Regions from separate parts of the Homo sapiens genome. Here region 2 is linked to region 1. The links are contacts of gene promoters, found by promoter capture Hi-C in blood cells and fetal thymus (Javierre and others, 2016). All regions are on one chromosome and are shown on one strand. The core of a region is centred on a gene start or on the middle of the fragment in contact, and the rest is flanking DNA. Distances in the headings are between cores, read along the strand shown.

Region 1 (5,815 bases), core at 1-2,500:
CCGTGCCCTCCAGGTAGTCATGATCCCAGTGCAGGTCAGTGAGGAAGAGGATGCGGCTGACAGGGGCACCTGGGGCTGGGGGGCTAGGGGGTTTGGGGGGCGGCTTCGGCACAGTAGGCAAAGAGATGTTCCAAGATGAGAAAATGTCCCAGTGCCCACAGGTGGAGCCCAGGAGCAGGCCACAGGCCTCAGATGGGCTCAGCACTGAGCGTCTCCACACCTCCACCATGTCATCCTCAAAGAGGTGGACAATGGATTGGCACACGGCAGGTGGTGCTATCTTCAGCAGATTGCACAGCTTGATGGCCACGGAGCCCACGCGAGCCACATTGGGTTCCTTCTGCAGTGGGAGGAGCGCATGGTGAGAAATCAGAGGCAGAGCAGAGGAACCAGGCCAACCCCTGGCCACCACCCCTTGGGCCTCCATTTCCAAACTGGGGCTGGGCAGGACTCAGTGCACCAAGCTCAGTGCACACCTTTGCCTTCCAGATATTGCCCTGTAACTCAGGCAGCACCAGGCCATCGCTTCTTCTTTAGCTCAGCGGCCTGTGGCATGAGGCCTTTGCTTGGCAAGCTGACTTCCTCAGGCACTGTCTGCATTATTTTCTTACTTCACAAAGGTCACAATGGGGTGATGGTGGCATGTAGCCATGGGTGTCCCCAAAGGGGAGCAAACTCAGTGATGGATTGTAGATGCCACCCTCTCCATCAGGGATGCATTCTGAGCCCAGCGCACCAGCATCAGCCCCAGCCCCCAGCCCCAGCACTCCTTTCGGCCTCCTCCACTGCAGCCCCTTCAGTGCTCACCTTCAGCCCGAGGTTGATGGCGGTGAATAGACCTTTGCAGATTGGGCAGGTGAGGTTCCCCCACCCAAAGACATCTCGGAGCCGGGGCACTATGCGATGTAACCTGGCAGGATGGCCTTGGGGAGAAAGAGGGTGAGCCTCTGCCGGAGCCCAGAGAACCCGAGAGTCAGACAGAGCCAGCGCCAGCGCCAGCGCCAGCGCCAGCGCCAGCACCAGGCCCATCCAAAGGAGTCCGGGGGCTCCGGCGGTCCCGTCTTGTCCCTGCTCCCGGCCGGACCTGGGGCAGCTCTGGCGGAGTGACGCTCCGTAGCGGGGCATTGTCGCGCTTCCTACACGGGGCTGGTTCGTCTGTCCCGTCCCCCCCGGCCTGGACCCTAGCCAGCCCTCAGGGCCCCGGGCGGCGCCGGGGACACCCGATTACCCTTCTCTGTAGTCGGCTGACTGCTCCGCGGCCGGCCGCAAAGCAGCTCCGCCCCTTCCTCTTCCTCTGATCTCTGACAGCTGATCTCTCGGTGGCGGGCGGCTGTCAACGCTGCGGAGGCGGAGGGGGCGGGGCGCTCCCGGGACCGCCCCGATTCCGCCCCCTCTCCCTGCCCCCGCCCTGCCCCGGGCGCACGGGCTGCGGGGGTGGGGACTCTCCCTGAGGTCACCAGGGGCTCCGCCTTGAGGTCACAGCCGCGGGAGGCCGTGCTCGTGCTTTGGAGCTCCATGTGATGTGGTCGGTGGAAGACGTCTCCTTTGTCAGAATCCGCGCTCAGATTCCCGGAATAGCTGCCAGACCGACCCCAGCGTTTAGCCCGGGAAGGGGAGGTAGGAGAGAGCAGGGCGGGCAGGATCCTCCCACTGGGTGTGTTGCCTCTGACAGGAAGGCGCCTTCCCTCGATTCCCCATGCTCTGCCACTGGCACCAGCCCTCTTGAGTCACCCTGAGAATCACTCACCTGTGATTCAGATGAGGAAACAAACCTTAGAGATGGTGAAGAGACTAGGAAGCCGTAAAGACCATATAGCCGTGGGGGCCAATAACATGGGCGGGAACCCAATTGGGTCTCCCACCTCCGTGTATCCACGACAGTAAAAGCGAGCATTTATGGAGTTGTTTATGATGTGCCAAGCACCAACCCAGGCACTTTATAATTAATAATCTTCAATTCTCACAACAACCCTAAGAAGTACCTATTATATTGGGGCTCAGAAATCCATACCCAAAATATGGTGGTTTGACTTACTAAGTTAAGCCTTAAGGTGTGTCTGGCCTTCCTACTCCCGCGCCCTCTCTCCCAAAGCCGTTACCTAGCGTCCAGACCCATCAAAAGGAACAACGGTTTTTTTCTTCCCCTCCCTACAAAACCAAGAATATAATCACACCTGAACAGACCCCTTCACATGATAATGTGCTAGTTAATCTGTTCCCTGATCCATTCCTTCTCCCTCAGCAGAATTCCTCTTCCCCTCACTCCCACAACCCCCTTTGCCTGAATGACACCTAAGCTTCTGAACTCGTCTGGGAAGTGGGTAGTCACTCTGTGGTTCCCCGTGGACACATTAATACAATTTCTATGCCTTTTCTTCAATTAATCTGTTTTTTGTGGGTTGATTTTTCAGCAGAATTTCAGAGGGCGAAGGGAAAGTTTCCCTTGGTCCCTGCAAATACTATTATTACCCTCCTTTACAGATAGGATGAGGCACAAAGAAGTTAAGTGGCAGAATAGCAATTAAACCCTAAGCTGTTTGACGAGTGCTTCTGAGGAATCCTCAGAGCTATCAAGTCCTGTCAGTTCTTTCCTTTGATAATTTTTTACAAGTGTTTTTTCCCCCCAGTTCTGGGGACATCATCTCAGATAGAGTACTCACAGTAATAATTAGCATGCATTTTTAAGATTATGTACTATGAAAAACAAAACAAAACAAAACCTTTTTATCTAAGGAAGATGAGCCCCTTTAAATTATCAGGCCCAGACAGGCATTTAAAATGTAGCAACAGTCACTCTCACTCTTCTTTGAGCTAAGTAATTATCTCTTGAAACCACTTGCTATGCCAAGTAGCCATTAAATGCCATACACCTTATAGTTCAACAATGTATAGCCAAGCGCTAAACAATGTATAACCAGTGTTATTTCTGTAAACAATGAGAATTCCTGATGAACAACTTTTGTATTCATTTCCTCTCCTAATTCATCTTTTTTTCTTTGAAAATATGAGCCTCTCTTTTGTTGTCCAGAGTGCTCCCCCAAGACAACTTGCAAGTGTGTCCTGGGTCGCAGTCCTCAACCTTGGCCCTTGGCCCGAATAACCCTCTGTAGGTACTTTTCTGAGGACTCTGCCTTACGTTAATCCTCACAACAAATTTGGAAGTCGGTATTATAATTATCCCCATTTTACGGAGAAGGAAAGTAGGATTAAGTAAGTGGCTCAAGATCCCACAGCTAGCTAGTAAGTGCTGGAACTGGAATTTGGATGTGTCAAGCAAAACATGTCTGAGACAGGTCTCAATCAATTTAGAGGTTTATTTTGCCAAGGTTAAGGACATGGCTGGAAGAAATAAACACGGAATCGCAGAAACAGTCTGTGGTCTGTGGCTTTCTCCAAAGATGATTTTGAGGGCTTCAATATTTAAAGGGGAAAAGTGAGCTGGAGGGAAAGAAGAAGGGTATGGTAATCCACATGTCGCAAGAGAAAAGGAGCAGGTAGGGAGATACTCAATTATGTGTTCGTCTGGCACTTTACATAAGATAAAGTAAATATGCCTGTGGAGATATTTAACCTTTTGTGTTTTTTTTGTTTTTTTTTTTTTGAGACAGAGTTTTCGCTGTTGTTGACCAGGCTGGAGTGCAATGGCGCAATCTCGGCTCACCACAACCTCTGCCTCCCGGGTTCAAGTGATTCTCCTGCCTCAGCCTACTGAGTAGCTGGGATTACAGGCATGTGCCACCACACCCGGCTAATTTTGTAAATATTTAACCTTTTGTCTGTAGCTATCTGCTTAGGAACAAAAGGAAAGGCAGCTTCTTGCATGACTCAGTTTTCAGTTTATTTTTTTTCCTTTTGGCATAGTCAACTGGAGTCCTGAGTTTTTATTTTCCTTTCACAAATGCAACATTCTGGCTCTATTCTTTGCTGTGTGGGGACCCATTCAGAACACCAGAGTTGGTATAACAATTATTTTAAGCCGAAGACATTTCAGATTCAATAGATGCAGAAATAAACCTTCTGGGAGCTTTCTTCATCTGATTAAAACTTCTGGGAAATGTCAACCTAAAGGGAAAAATCTAAGGCAAACTTGATATAAGTAGAGAGTTTATTTGGGCCAAGTTTGAAGACTGTGAAGCGAAGATTCAAGTTGCCCTGAGTATATGCTCCCAATTAGCAGAAGTCACAAGTGGGTTTTTAAAGGAGAAGAAGAGGCAGTTCCTAATGAGGACTAAGCTCTGATTTTTTCTTATCTTGCTCAAATTCCTATCGAAAGGGTCTGGGGAGTCATGCCCTACAAACCATAAATTCTTATCAGTTGGGTTTTATTTAACACTATATATTGTGACTGCCTTTTCAGTCATACTCTGGCATAAAATTACGTGATAAAGAAGAAAGTCAAAATATTTTACCCCAAAACATGTTTCTTTGCCATATATATATATATATATATATATATATATATATATATATATATGTTTTTTGGTTTGGGGTGGGGGGCGGGACAGAGTTTCACTCTTATTGCCCGGGCTGGAGTGCAATGGGGTGATCTTGGCTTACTGCAACCTCCCCCACCCAGATTCAAGGGATTCTCCTGCCTCAGCCTCCCGAGTAGCTGGGATTACAGGCACCCACCACCACCATGCCCAGCTAATTTTTGTATTGTTAATAAAGATGGGGTTTTGCCATGCTGGCCAGGCTGGTCTCGAACTTCTGACCTCAGGTGATCCGCCTGCCTTGGCCTCCCAAAGTACTGGGATTACAGGAGTAAGCCACCGCACCCGGCCACTTTGCCATATTTTGAAATGGCCCTGCAAAGTCGTACCTTATGGGGGAAAATTTACATCTGTAAAGAATCTCTAATAACACAGATCTTTTTCTTCTGGGCCCTCCAATCCTGAAGAGATTAACTGAGAGTCTAGCACCTTTTAAAGGTCTGAATAGGAAACATTTGTCGACTGTTGTCTCTAAGGGCAGCCACTAAGAGACTTCAAAGAACCTTGGTCTCCACAATCTTTTTTTTTTTTTTAAAAATGGCGTCTCACTCTGTCGCCCAGGCTGGAGTGCAACAGTGTAATCTCGGCTCACTGCAACCTCCGCCTCCCGGGTTCAAGCAATTCTCCTACCCCAGCCCCCCGAGCAGCTGGGACTACAGGCATCTGCCACCACACCCAGCTAATTTTCATATTTTTAATAGAGATGGGGCTTCACGATGTTGGCCAGGATGGTCTCCATCTCTTGACCTCGTGATCCGCCTGCCTTAGCCTCCCAAAGTGCTGGGATTACAGGTGTGAGCCACTGTGCCCGGCCTCCACAATCTTTTATCTTAACCTGAACATTTCCTTTCTATTGATCCCAGGTCTTTAGACAAACTCAACCAATTGTCAACCAGAAAATGTTTAAATTTCCCTATAGCCTGGAAGCTCCCCATCCCCCAGCTTCAGATTGTCCCACCTTTCTTGACCAAACCAATGTATTTCTCAAATTTATTTGATTGATGTCTCATACATCCCTAAAATGTATAAAACCAAGCTGCACCCTGACCACCTTGGGCACATGTTCTCAGGACCTCCTGAGGGCTGTGTCACGGGCCATGGTCACTCGTTTGGCTCAAAATAAATCTCTTCAAATATTTTACAGAGTTTCACTCTTTTCATAGACACTAAGTTGTTCACCAAGAATTTACATAAAAATAACATAAGCTATTGATTGGCTATGCCTTGTTCTTTGTATCATAAATCCCAGGAATGTGAAGATAAAGGGTGAGGCATGTCTGACTAGGAACAAACAATTGCACCCCACTTCTTGGTTTTGTGGG
Region 2 (5,815 bases), core at 2,261-4,760, 240 kb before region 1:
GATTGCTTGAGCCCAGGAGTTCGAAGTTGCAGTGAGCTAGGATCACACCACTGCACCCCAGACTGGGCAACAGAGAGCCTGTCTCAAAAATAAATTAAATAAATAAATAATTTATGTTTTGAAAAGTCAAAGCAGGAGGTACACCTGGAAAAGAGGTTGGGATAGGCATATGGAGTAAGTTTCGAGGCTAGTAAGAAGTTTAGAGAGTTCACAGATAAGTGTCTTTCTTTTCTCCTTGAAATAGTGCATCTGATGAGAGCAAGGGATGGGATGGGGGCAAGAGAAGAGGGATGAAGTTTATTATGGCTTTGGGGCAGAATGGGAGAGGGAGCCGACCAAGGTCGGACTGAGACGCTGAGCTGAGAATCTGCTGAAAATGGAGACTGTATTTGCAGTGAAACCTCTGAGCAGGGGTTGTACAGGCCAGGAAATTCACTTCTGCCTTGCTCATTTCCAGTCAGTGGCCCCTGTGCCTTTTGGGGTCACTTCCTGACAACTTCCCCAGACCACTGTTTATTGCTTTCTTCCTGCAGCGAGTCAGAGGGCAAAGGTCGTTAACAGCTTCTGGAGATGGTGCCGCAGCTGTGCTGCTGCCTGCCAGGATTGATGTAGGGGAAGTCTGTCTCCTGGGATATCCGGGCCCACAGCCACAGTAGAGAGTTGGAGCAGAAGCTGTTTCCAGGGTTCAGCCATGGCAGGGTCTTGGTGTCTCTCAGGAGGGTAAACAATGGCACAGATCATTTCTGTCAAGGGTCTGGGCCACAATCAGAAGTCCTTGGCCAGCTTTCTCTCTAAGCACATTTTCTGGCTGAGAAAGGGGAACTCTCCAGCTTCCTCTTGCAGCATATCCTGACCCTGAGGTCCTTATATCCACAAAGAGCGCTTTGTCACAGGCTACAGTTGTCAGCACCAGCTAACCCACTATTGAGGGCCTAATGTGTACCCAATGTATAAAACTTAGTGTGAAAGAAGGTTTTGTTACAAAGCAGGATGATCAGACCGTCGATTTACTCGGTGAAAAAATACACATAAAGCACCTACTATGTACCTTGCACTGTACTAGGCTAACGATGCATGAGCCACACACCCATAAATCTATAGAACAGACCCTATAGTGATCAGATCCCAGTATTAATCAGATCCCACTCTGTAATAATCAAACTCAATAAAGATCAAACCTATAAATCAGTCTCAATAATTCCACTGTCGGTGAGTTCTTGGTTTGGGGTGATTATGAGACTTGGTGAGGGTATTAACTTCCTGGACCCACCTGGAATTTGAGGTCACAGCCCTTTCTTCTTTCTAAGTACAGTTGGTCCTCATTATTTGTGAATTCACTTAATCTCGAAAATTTATTTGTAACTCCAAAATCAATACTAGCATTCCTGGACATGGGCAGAGAGATGAAAAATTTGAGTTACCTAATGTTCACATTCCCAGCACAGGGTGAACAAGACGATGTTCTGCCTTCTCATTTGGGCTCTCATGCTTGTAAACAAATGTCCCTTTCAGGTCTATTTACTGCAACTTTTTTTTTTCATTTTTTTAGTGCAAAAAGCTGATGATTTCACTGTTTAAATGGTCCCCAAGTGTAGTGCTGAAGTGTGGTCTAATGTTCCTCAGTACAAGAAGGCTGTGATGTGTTGTATGGAGAAAATACATATGTTAGATAAGCTTTATTCAGGCATGAGTTACAGTGCTGTTGGCTGTGAGTTCAATGTTAATGAATGAACAATGTATATTAAACATAAGATGTCTTTAAACAGAAACACACATCAAACAAGGTTATGTATTGACCAGCTGACAAAAAATGTTATGGCTAGAGGCACTTAGGAACCTAACTAAATGGTGAGGTACAGGCTGAGGTTGGGTTTGGGCCCATGTCCTACTAGTCCTCTCTGTGTGTCCGCCATCCAGAGACTTAGCACCAGTTGTTCATTCTAATGGCCACCTACCTCTGGCTTTTCTGGCAAAGAAGAGGGGACACCACTCACCCCAGCCTCTCCCTAGGTGACAGCCACAGACGCGGATAGTGGCCCATTTGGCCTCCTCTCCTATTCCTTGGGTGCTGGACTTGGGTCCTCCGGATCTCCCCCATTCCGCATTGATGCCCACAGCGGTGATGTGTGCACAACCCGGACCCTGGACCGTGACCAGGGGCCCTCAAGCTTTGACTTCACAGTGACAGCTGTGGATGGGGTAAGTCAGTAGACCAAGGGCAGGTTGGGATGTTGGGGTAGGGCACTCACCAGGGCCAGATGAGGCCCACCTGACCTATGGCTGCATGTCCCACCAGGGAGGCCTCAAGTCCATGGTATATGTGAAGGTGTTTCTGTCAGACGAGAATGACAACCCTCCTCAGTTTTATCCACGGGAGTATGCTGCCAGTATAAGTGCCCAGAGTCCACCAGGCACAGCTGTGCTGAGGTTGCGTGCCCATGACCCTGACCAGGGATCCCATGGGCGACTCTCCTACCATATCCTGGCTGGCAACAGCCCCCCACTTTTTACCTTGGATGAGCAATCAGGTGAGGATCCTCCCATTCCCGGGGCCTTCCCCCAGGTCCCCCTCCCCACCTGCCTAAATGATGTCCTACCCACCTCCTCCATAACCTTTCTAGCCCTATTATGTTTCCTTATATATCTCTGCTTCTATTCTTCCTCTCAGGGCTGTTGACAGTAGCCTGGCCCTTGGCCAGACGGGCCAATTCTGTGGTGCAGCTGGAGATCGGGGCTGAGGACGGAGGTGGCCTACAGGCAGAACCCAGTGCCCGAGTGGACATCAGCATTGTGCCTGGAACCCCCACACCACCCATATTTGAGCAACTACAGTATGTTTTTTCTGTGCCAGAGGATGTGGCACCAGGCACCAGTGTGGGCATAGTCCAGGCACACAACCCACCAGGTATCATTTAGCTTTATACCCACTTGGTGTCAGACCCAAATACCCCAGTATAACCCTCCAGCACCATCCGAAGATACCTTAGAGTATCACAGGGCAGATAGCCCCAGTATAAAACACTCCTGTACCAATGCCCAACACCTCCTTAGGCACAGTGCAGGCACACTGCTTCATGAGGCATAGGAATGTCACCTCAGTGCGTGCCAACCAACTTCTTTGCCAACCCCTGCCCCTCCTCCTAATATTTTGAAAGGCATGGGTGTGGGCACTGCCCAGTCCTTCTCGGGATCAGACTCTGGGTCCTGACTCAATAAGTGCCCCTCCATCTCTTTCCTGATCCCTTTTTCATCCTCCCTAGGTCGCTTGGCACCTGTGACCCTTTCCCTATCAGGTGGGGATCCCCGAGGACTCTTCTCCCTAGATGCGGTATCAGGACTGTTGCAAACACTTCGCCCTCTGGACCGGGAGCTACTGGGACCAGTGTTGGAGCTGGAGGTGCGAGCAGGCAGTGGAGTGCCCCCAGCTTTCGCTGTAGCTCGGGTGCGTGTGCTGCTGGATGATGTGAATGACAACTCCCCTGCCTTTCCTGCACCTGAAGACACGGTATTGCTACCACCAAACACTGCCCCAGGGACTCCCATCTATACACTGCGGGCTCTTGACCCCGACTCAGGTGTTAACAGTCGAGTCACCTTTACCCTGCTTGCTGGGGGTGGTGGAGCCTTCACCGTGGACCCCACCACAGGCCATGTACGGCTTATGAGGCCTCTGGGGCCCTCAGGAGGGCCAGCCCATGAGCTGGAGCTGGAGGCCCGGGATGGGGGCTCCCCACCACGCACCAGCCACTTTCGACTACGGGTGGTGGTACAGGATGTGGGAACCCGTGGGCTGGCTCCCCGATTCAACAGCCCTACCTACCGTGTGGACCTGCCCTCAGGCACCACTGCTGGAACTCAGGTCCTGCAAGTGCAGGCCCAAGCACCAGATGGGGGCCCTATCACCTATCACCTTGCAGCAGAGGGAGCAAGTAGCCCCTTTGGCCTGGAGCCACAGAGTGGGTGGCTATGGGTGCGGGCAGCACTAGACCGTGAGGCCCAGGAATTGTACATACTGAAGGTAATGGCAGTGTCTGGGTCCAAAGCTGAGTTGGGGCAGCAGACAGGCACAGCCACCGTGAGGGTCAGCATCCTCAACCAGAATGAACACAGTCCCCGCTTGTCTGAGGATCCCACCTTCCTGGCTGTGGCTGAGAACCAGCCCCCAGGGACCAGCGTGGGCCGAGTCTTTGCCACTGACCGAGACTCAGGACCCAATGGACGTCTGACCTACAGCCTGCAACAGCTGTCTGAAGACAGCAAGGCCTTCCGCATCCACCCCCAGACTGGTGAGCACAGAGACCCAAATCCTGAGACCGCATAGCCTTATCCCCAGCCTGGTGAACATTCAGACAGGATCCCCAACCCCCAGCTCCCATCTCGCCCCTGAGAATGAGGATTTAGCCCTGGCATTCCCTCCCCCACTCCCCAAACACCAGCTTCTTAGGTGCAGGCCTCAGGCTCTGCATCCTTAAACATCTCGTACATGATCGCCTTCTTGCACTCCCAGGAGAAGTGACCACACTCCAAACCCTGGACCGTGAGCAGCAGAGCAGCTATCAGCTCCTGGTGCAGGTGCAGGATGGAGGGAGCCCACCCCGCAGCACCACAGGCACTGTGCATGTTGCAGTGCTTGACCTCAACGACAACAGCCCCACGTTCCTGCAGGCTTCAGGAGCTGCTGGTGGGGGCCTCCCTATACAGGTATGTGAAGTGGCAGGACTTTGTCCTGAGAAGTGTGAGAGGGAGTGGGGATCTCCCCATAGAGCTGTAGGTGTAGGTAAGAGACTGCCTCCTGGATTGGGTGTGAGAGCCGAAAAGAGGTTCTGCCTGCCCACAGGTGAGGGAAGCTTTATCCTGAGTTGTCTGAAGAACAGGAAAGAGACTCACTAGGTGAGTTGTGTTCCCACAGGTACCAGACCGCGTGCCTCCGGGAACACTGGTGACGACTCTGCAGGCGAAGGATCCAGATGAGGGGGAGAATGGGACCATCTTGTACACGCTAACTGGTATGGGAGTGGAGAGAGGAGAATTGGTGGGTGATGGCATGCCCTCATGGCCTGCCCAGCTCTGGGCCCCAAGCCCTCATCTTCCTCTGCCTGTCCCCAGGTCCTGGCTCAGAGCTTTTCTCTCTGCACCCTCACTCAGGGGAGCTGCTCACTGCAGCTCCCCTGATCCGAGCAGAGCGGCCCCACTATGTGCTGACACTGAGTGCTCATGACCAAGGCAGCCCTCCTCGAAGTGCCAGCCTCCAGCTGCTGGTGCAGGTATGGCTGCCCTTCCTCCCCTTGGCTACCGCTGTAGGTCCCCTTCAGTAGCTCCAGCTTCACGGGAATCCTTTGGCTCCACTAGCAGTCAGGCTACTCTGACCACTTTCCTACCACCTGGGAAGCCAGCCCAGATCCCCTTTTACACGGGCCCTCACAATTCTGTTCTCCCTCCCCGGTCCACAACAGGTGCTTCCCTCAGCTCGCTTGGCCGAGCCGCCCCCAGATCTCGCAGAGCGGGACCCAGCGGCACCAGTGCCTGTCGTGCTGACGGTGACAGCAGCTGAGGGACTGCGGCCCGGCTCTCTGTTGGGCTCGGTGGCAGCGCCAGAGCCCGCGGGTGTGGGTGCACTCACCTACACACTGGTGGGCGGTGCCGATCCCGAGGGCACCTTCGCGCTGGATGCGGCCTCAGGGCGCTTGTACCTGGCGCGGCCCCTGGACTTCGAAGCTGGCCCGCCGTGGCGCGCGCTTACGGTACGCGCTGAGGGGCCGGGAGGCGCGGGCGCGCGGCTGCTGCGAGTGCAGGTGCAAGTGCAGGACGAGAATGA

The links. Contacts are between HindIII fragments. The CHiCAGO score rates a contact against its expected background, and 5 or more counts as called.
Region 2: a fragment that was not itself captured here is called in contact with the fragment with the promoter of SMPD1 in region 1 in 7 of 17 cell types (activated CD4 T cells, non-activated CD4 T cells, naive CD4 T cells and 4 more); the score reaches 8.4 in activated CD4 T cells.

Annotation. Positions count from the first base shown.
Region 1 is chr11:6,385,909-6,391,723 of GRCh38, reverse strand. It overlaps SMPD1 (sphingomyelin phosphodiesterase 1), which reads right to left and starts at 1,250. Exons shown (of 6, transcript NM_000543.5): 1 at 808-1,250; 2 at 1-340. The coding sequence starts at 1,125. It overlaps LOC124902624 (a long non-coding RNA gene), which reads left to right and starts at 1,368. Exons shown (of 2, transcript XR_007062573.1): 1 at 1,368-1,617. RefSeq lists a silencer at 1,034-1,533. The HindIII fragment of the contact is 7,977 bases long and covers 1-2,299 here.
Region 2 is chr11:6,630,502-6,636,316 of GRCh38, reverse strand. DCHS1 (dachsous cadherin-related 1) reads left to right here. Exons shown (of 21, transcript NM_003737.4): 3 at 2,011-2,199; 4 at 2,297-2,528; 5 at 2,669-2,905; 6 at 3,261-4,286; 7 at 4,508-4,701; 8 at 4,910-5,006; 9 at 5,107-5,264; 10 at 5,454-5,815. Among named protein-coding and RNA genes, the nearest start is that of TPP1, 14 kb to the right of the region's middle. The HindIII fragment of the contact is 2,679 bases long and covers 2,171-4,849 here.